Regions from separate parts of the Homo sapiens genome. Here region 2 is linked to region 1. Evidence: promoter capture Hi-C in human tissues and cell types (Jung and others, 2019). All regions are on one chromosome and are shown on one strand. Each heading gives the region's core, a stretch centred on a gene start or on the middle of the fragment in contact. The rest is flanking DNA. Distances are from core to core; before and after follow the strand shown.

Evidence for each region. Contacts are between HindIII fragments. The study calls those that stand out against the background at their distance.
Region 2: the fragment with the promoter of MYO15B here is called in contact with a fragment that was not itself captured in region 1 in 2 of the 25 tissues and cell types used here (mesenchymal stem cells and spleen).

What each region holds. Positions count from the first base shown.
Region 1 is chr17:75,374,464-75,379,272 of GRCh38, forward strand. The region is part of intron 2 of GRB2 (growth factor receptor bound protein 2); the gene reads right to left. Among named protein-coding and RNA genes, the nearest start is that of GRB2, 29 kb to the right of the region's middle. The HindIII fragment of the contact is 7,732 bases long and covers 1-4,809 here.
Region 2 is chr17:75,586,550-75,589,049 of GRCh38, forward strand. MYO15B (myosin XVB) reads left to right here and starts at 1,251. Exons shown (of 64, transcript NM_001395058.1): 1 at 1,251-2,500. The coding sequence starts at 1,509. RefSeq lists enhancers at 1,067-1,900, 1,403-1,472, 1,901-2,500 and a silencer at 2,353-2,482. The HindIII fragment of the contact is 22,601 bases long and covers 1-2,500 here.

The DNA of each region.
Region 1 (4,809 bases), core at 1,356-3,855:
TGACACCTGTAATCCCAGCATTTTGGGAGGCCAAGGTGGGTGGATCACTTTAGCTCAGGAGTTTGAGATTAGCCTGGCAACATGGAAAAATCCTATTGACACACACACACACTAGCCGAGTGTGGTGGCACATGCCTGTAGTCACACACACACACACACACAAACACACACACTCTAGCCGAGTGTGGTGGCACATGCCTGTAGTCCCAGCTACTCGGGAAGCTGATGTGGGAAGATCGCTGGAGCCCAGGAGATTGAGGCTGCAATGAGCCATGATCAATCACGCCACTGCACTCCCAACCTGGCCAACAGAACAAGACTCTGTCTCAAGAAAAGAAGAAAAAAAAAGCTACTACTATCATGACATTCTCATATAACTCTATATGGCATATACTCTCTGCACGGCATTCAGATTCATGCATTTAAATAATTCTGTTTCTTTTTCTTGAGATAAGGGGTCTCATTCAGTCGCTCAGGTTTATAGTACAGTAGCGAGATCATGGCTCACTGCATCCTCAAACTCCTGAACTCAAGTCATCCTCCTGCCTGAGCCTCCTGAGTAGCTGGGACTGCAGATGTGTGCCACCACGATTGGCTAATTTAAACATTTTTGGTTTTTTTTTTGTAGACGGGGGGGTCTCACTGTGTTGCCCAGGCTGGTCTCAAACTGCTGGCTTTAAGGGCTATTCCTGCCTCAGCCTCCCAAAGTGCTGGGAATACAGATGTGAGCCAGCTAGCCTGATCTACATAATTCTATCACTATACTTCTTATGCCAATCATCACATCACATTCTATGGCTGATCTTTCATGTTCTCAACTGGATACAAATCCACAAAAGCTCACATTATTCTTTCCTGTAATTGCTGATTATGAATTATGATGAATTTCATGGTAGTTAAATCCATTTGAACACAATCTTCAGGAAAAAAAAAAGAGAGAAAGTAATTAACCAATAGATCTAACAACATCTATAGAAGACTCTACCCAACAACAGCAGAATAAAAATCTATCTCAAGCGCACAGGAGAACATTCTCAGGACAAACCAGATGGTAGGCCATAAAACAAGCCCCAATAAATCTGAAAGTATTAAAATCATACAAAGTATGTTCTACAACTACAATGAAAATAGAAATCAGCCGGGCACAGTGGCTCACACCTGTAATCCCAACACTTTGGGAGGCCGAGGCAGGCAGATTAACTGAGGCTAGGAGTTTGAGACCATCTTGGCAAATATGGTGAAACCTCGTCTCTACAAATATACAAAAAGTACTGGGGACTGGCCGGGCGCAGTGGCTCAAGCCTGTAATCCCAACACTTTGGGAGGCAGAGGCAGGTGGATCACGAGGTCAGGAGATCGAGACCATCCTGGCTAACACGGTGAAACCCTGTATCTACTAAAAATACAAAAATTTAGCCGGGCGTGGTGGTGGGCGCCTGTAGTCCCAGCTACTCGGGAGGCTGAGGCAGGAGAATGGCGTGAACCCAGGAGGCAGAGGTTGCAGTGAGCCAAGATTGCGCCACTGCACTCCAGCCTGGGCGACAGAGCAAGACTCCGTCTCAGAAAAAAAAAAAAAAAAAAAAAATTACCGGGGCCTGCATGAGCGCAGTGGCTCACGCCTGTAATCCCAGCACTTTGGGAGGCCAAGGCAGGCGGATTGGCTGAGCTCAGGAGTTTGAGACCAGCCTAGGCAACACGGTTAAACCCCATCTCTATTGAAATACAAGAAATCAGCCAGGCGTGTCGGCATGCGCCTATATAGTCCCAGCTACTTGGGAGGCTGAGGCAGGAGAATTGCTTGAACCTGGGAGGCAGACGTTGCAGTGAGCCGAGATTGTGCCACTGCACTCCAGCCTGGGTGACAGACAGAGACTCTGTCTCAAAAAAAAAAAAAAAAAAAAAAATTTTTTAACCCGACCTGGTGGCATGCTCCTGTAATCCCAGCTACTCAGGAGGCTGAGGCAAGAAAATCTCTTGAATGCGGGAGGTGGAGGCTGCAGTGAGCTGAGACTGCACTGCTGCATTTCAGCCTGGGCAACAGAGGGAGACTCTGTTTCAAAAAAAAAAAAAAAAGATTAGTGAAGCATGAACTTCTACTGATTGTCTTGCACATAGACATTTTTAGCCTGTATAACATAATTTGTAACCAACGATTATAACTTACATATTGTACCATCCAATGAAAAGACAACTCTGGTATGAGGAGGAGTACCCTTCCTTCTTTTAAACTTTCCTAAAAACCTTTCACAGGCCAGGCAAGGTGGCTTACACCTGTAATCTGTAATCCCAGCACTTTGGGAGGCCAAGGTGAGAGGATCCCTTAATCCCAGAAGTTTGAGACAAGCCTGGGCAACATAATGAGACTCCATCCCTACAAAACAAAACAAAACAAACAAACAAACAAAAACTAGTTGGGCATGGTGGTGGATACCTGTAGTTCCAGAGACTAGGGTGGGAGGATCAACTGAGCCTGGAATGTTGGGGCTGTACTGAGCCATGATTGTACCTCTGCACTCCAGCCTGGGTAAGAGAGCCAGACCCTGTCTCAAAAACATAAAGACAGACCTTCATAGCTGGGCCCAGTGACTCACATCTATAATCCGAGCTACTTGGGAGGCTGAGATGGGAGGATCACTCGAGACCAGCCTGGGCAACATAGTGACCCCCCGCTACAAAAAAAAAATATTAAAAGTTACATTTTTAAATATAATACAGGGTGTGGTGGTGCGCATCTGTAGTCCCAGCTACTGAGGAGACTGAGGTGAGATGATCACTTGAGCCCAGGAGTTCGAGGCTGCAATGAACTATGGTGGGGCCACCGTACTCCAGCCTGGGGTGACAGAATGAGACCCCATGTTTATTGCAAACAAAAAGTGGCCAGGCAGAGTGGTTCATGCCTGTAATCCCAACACTTTGGGAGGTCAAGGCAGGAGGACTGCTTGAGGCCATGAGTTCGAGATCAGCCTGGGCAACATGGCGGGATCTTGTTTCTACAAAATACAAAAAGTTAGCTGGGCATGGTGGTGCTCACCTGCTGTCCCAGCTACTCGGGAGGCTGAAGTGGATGAAGTGCTTGAGCCTAGGAAGTTGAGGCTGCACTCCAGCCCAGGCAACAGAGCGAGACCCTGTCTCAGAAAAAAAAAAAAAAAAAAAAAAAAAAAGGCTGGGTGTGGTAGTTCACGCCTGTAATCCCAGTACTTTGGGAGGCTGAGGCAGGTGGATCACTTCAGGTCAAGAGTTAGAGACCAGCCTGGCCAACATGGCAAAACCCTGTCTCTACTAAAAGTACAAAAATTAGCCGGGTATGGTGGCACACGCCTGTAGTCCCAGCTACTAGGGAGGCTGAGGTGGTAGAACTGCTTGAACCCGGGAGGCAGAGGTTGCAGTGAGCCAAGATCATGACACTACACTCTAGCCTGGGCAAGAGAGTAAGACTCTAAAAAAGAAAACAACCCACGAAGAAACAAACAGCAAAACAAAAACATCTTTCACCTTGTGACAGACTTCAGAACAACCCCCAAGTCTGCTGGTGTGTCTTCCCAGGTCGATTCTCATTTGCCAGGCCTTCCAATAAACCTTTATGAAATCATTTCTGCCTCAATAGTCTTAGTTTCAGTTGACAATATAAATCCCAAACCCAGGCCAGGTGCAGTGGCTCACGCCTGTAATTCCAGCACTTTGGGAGGCCGAGGTGGGGGGGAGGATCACCTGCAGTCAGGAGTTCGAGACCAGCCTGACCAACATGGTGAAACACCGTCTCTACTAAAAATACAAAAATGAGCTGAGCGTGGTGGTGGGCAGCTGTAATCCTAGCTACTTGGGAGGCTGAGGCAGGAGAATCACAGGAGGGCGGAGGTTGTAGTGAGCTGAGATCTCGCCACCGCATTTCAGCCTGGGCAACAGAGTGAGACTGTCTCAAAAAACAAACAAACAAACAAACACCCAAACCCAAAAGCAAGTTACACAAGAATAATTTTTCATGTGGTCACCTGAGGATATGCGGGTGAGAGGCATGTCCTTTTTGCCAGGCCTTTAATATCTAACAGGGAAGGGATGAAGTGAGAGAAAAACATATAGAAATTTCACACATGAACGTACAACACTAACAAACTCATAGCTAAATATGAAAATTACTACTAAGAACTTTAAAGGTAACAACTGTTCAGGTGGGTGTAGTTCTAGTACAAGCTTAAACATGGCAGATTGGACAGGCCTCTGAGCAGATACAGTGTGACTTTCTCCAAGTTTACGAACAACTACAGTATTAGTTCTTCTGTACTGGTAACCTAAGTATAGAAGGAGACGAACCAATTAATTAAGGGAAGGCTTGTACGGTCTACCAGTTCTCACTTCTAGCATTAAATGAGGCCATTAGTTACAAATTCACTGGGATATATGACGTGGACTACTTCAGCACAATGTTTTGGAAAATTCACACAAATTTCGGTTCACAATCTATTCTGATTAGCTTTAATATGATTTTGAGAAAAGTCTTAATCATTGTATCTTTTCTAAGAGCCTGGCACAGAAATCCTCTGAGCTACTGCCACTTTCTAAAGAGGTACACTTTAACAGAAATGCCATTCTTCTCTCCAAAGATGAAGTACCTGCTTACTTTCATTATAAAATTTTGAATATGGTTTCATTGTTATGTTTTATGGTACCCAGGAACTGCAATAAAAGTAACTATGGCTATATGCATTAAACGTTTTTTCTGAAAGGTTATAGAAAACCTGAATAGTGATTTTCTTTGGGAAGGTTTGTCATATAAATTTTCTAATGATGAGTGAGACATTTATTTATTTGCTT
Region 2 (2,500 bases), core at 1-2,500, 210 kb after region 1:
GCATGTGCCACCACACCTAGGTAATTTTTGTATTTTTAGTAGAGATGGGGTTTCACCATGTTGGCCAGGCAGATCTCGAACTCCTGACATCAGGTGATCCACCCACTTCGGCCTCCCAAAATGCTGGGATTACAGGCATGAGCCACCTCACTTGGCCAGGATCCACTTTGGATGTAGAAACCCATCAATAAGGAATTGGTTCAACCATGGTGCATTTATTTGCAAGGAAGAGAGGGAGGAGAGAAGGGAGGAAGGCAGGCTGGCTTTTTATGGTATTATTATGAAATCACCAGATTACATTGTTAAGTGAAAAAGGCAAAGTGGAGACCCCGGAGCTACATAAGCTACCACTTGTGCTAAAGGGGAAAAATATAATATTTGCTTTTCTCTGCATGGAAAGTTTTTGTTGTTGTTTCTTTGTTTTTGAGACAAACAAAATGCTGTCACCCAGGCTGGAGTGCAGTGGTGTGATCTCAGCTCACTGCAAGCTCTGCCTCCTGGGTTCATGCCATTCTCTCCTGCCTCCTGGGTTCATGCCATTCTCTTGCCTCAGCCTCCCGAGTAGCTGGGACTACAGGCGCCCCCCACCACGACCGGCTAATTTATCGTATTTTTTAGTAGAGACGGGGGTTTCACCATGTTAGCCAGGATGGTCTCCATCTCCTGACCTCGTGATCCGCCCTCCTTGGCCTCCCAGAGTGCTGGGATTACAGGCGTGAGCCACCGCGCCCGGCCAACCTGGAAAATTTTGCAAGGAAATACAGAAATGGGTAACCTCAGGGGAACACTGAGTACATAGGCTGAGGGTCAGGAATGGGAGACTTTTATCTTGTAATGTTTGGATGTTTGAATTATGTGAATGTATTACCTGTTTTAAAAATAGATATTTTAAAAACACACACATTGGGGCAATCAGGAATGTATGGGGTGTGGTTCTGTTCCACAACTCCAAGGAGGTAGACAGGCATGTTTTACACCAGTTCAAGATGTACATTTATGTTTTATGTACTTTTCGGTAAATTGTATTTATTCCACAATTGAAAAGAACAAAAACCCTAGCGACTCATGGAGTGCTGCCGTGTGCCAGGGTGGGCCTGGCCCCAGTCCCTTGGAACCCTCAGAAGGAAGAAGTCCAGACAGGTTCTCTGGGCCCTTCCTTGCTGGGCAAGCACTGAGGTGGGAGTGGAGCATGGACCCCCTCAGTCTGGCGCGGTGCGAGGCTGGCCTGGCTGGCAGCGCCTCCCGGCGGCACTGTTGCCCTGTCCGCAGCTGTAGCGTCTCCTGTTTCCTGGGCGCCTCTATTCCATTGTTGGCCGAGGGGGTCAGGACCCGCCGCCTTCTGCATTATTGATGGTCCTGTAAGGCGGGCACCTCGGGGAGTAGAGCCTGTAGCCCCTGCGAGAGCAGAGCCGGGTGGTGCACTGCACAGAAGGTCACCGCGGGAGGCCAAATCCCCGGGGAGGGGAAAGGACCTGGGCGTCGGGAAGCCCGTCTCCTTTGGGCCAGCCATGGGCAGGAACCAGCGCAAAGCGCCCCAGCGCCTGGAGAGGCCCGGGAGGCCGGCCTCAGGGGAGCAGGAGTCGGGGTCGGCCAGCGCGGATGGCGCGCCCAGCCGGGAACGCCGTTCCGACCGCGGGCAGGCGGACAGGGCGAAACCGGCGGCCGAGCCTGCCACCGCCGGGGGCCAGGGAACCCCTGGTGGCCGCAGGAAGCCCACTGCAGAGGGGAACGGCGGCTGCAGACGCCCAGGGGCTGGGCTGTCCCCGAAAGCCCAGGAGAGGCAAAGCAACGCGCAGCGTCAGGGACGCGGGCCCAGGGGCGGCCGCGGGGGGCGCCTGGAGGAGGGAAGCCTCTCCGGAGGAGAAGAGCTGGGCGGCCGCCGTAGGAGGAAGCGGAAAGATAAGGGGCCCTCGGCTCGGCGGGGCCGCCGGACGCCCAGGAGCCTCAATGGGGACACGTCGGGTGGGGACGGAGGCAGCTCCTGTCCGGACAGCGAAACCCGCGAGGCCCAGGAGAGCGGCAGCCAGCGCGGCACAGCCCGGGAGCTGCGGCCCACGCCGGAGCCTACGGACATGGGCTCGGAAGGGACAAAAACCGGGCCGGAGTCAGCGCTGGAGCCAAGCAGCGACGGCCTGGACAGCGACTGGCCCCACGCAGATACCCGGGGCCGGGAAGGGTCGTCGGGGACGGGGCCCCTGGGAGCCAGCGAGCATTCCGGCGGGGACTCCGACTCGAGTCCGCTGGGGACCGGACCTGGACGGGGCTCTCGGGCAGCTATGGCCTCCAGGACCTTCGAGGACAGCTCGCGGGCTCCTCGGGACACTGGGCCGGCCAAGGACGCGAGCGACAACCGGGCGCAGCGGGGCGCCGAGCCAGAAACAATGCAGGCCTCGACGGCCCGGGCTCCGCGCCACCAGGTCGGAAAGGCGGTGGGGCAGGTGCCAGCGGCGGCAGGCGAGGGCGAAGCGGGAGCCGCAGCAGGAGCGGGGCCGGAGGACCC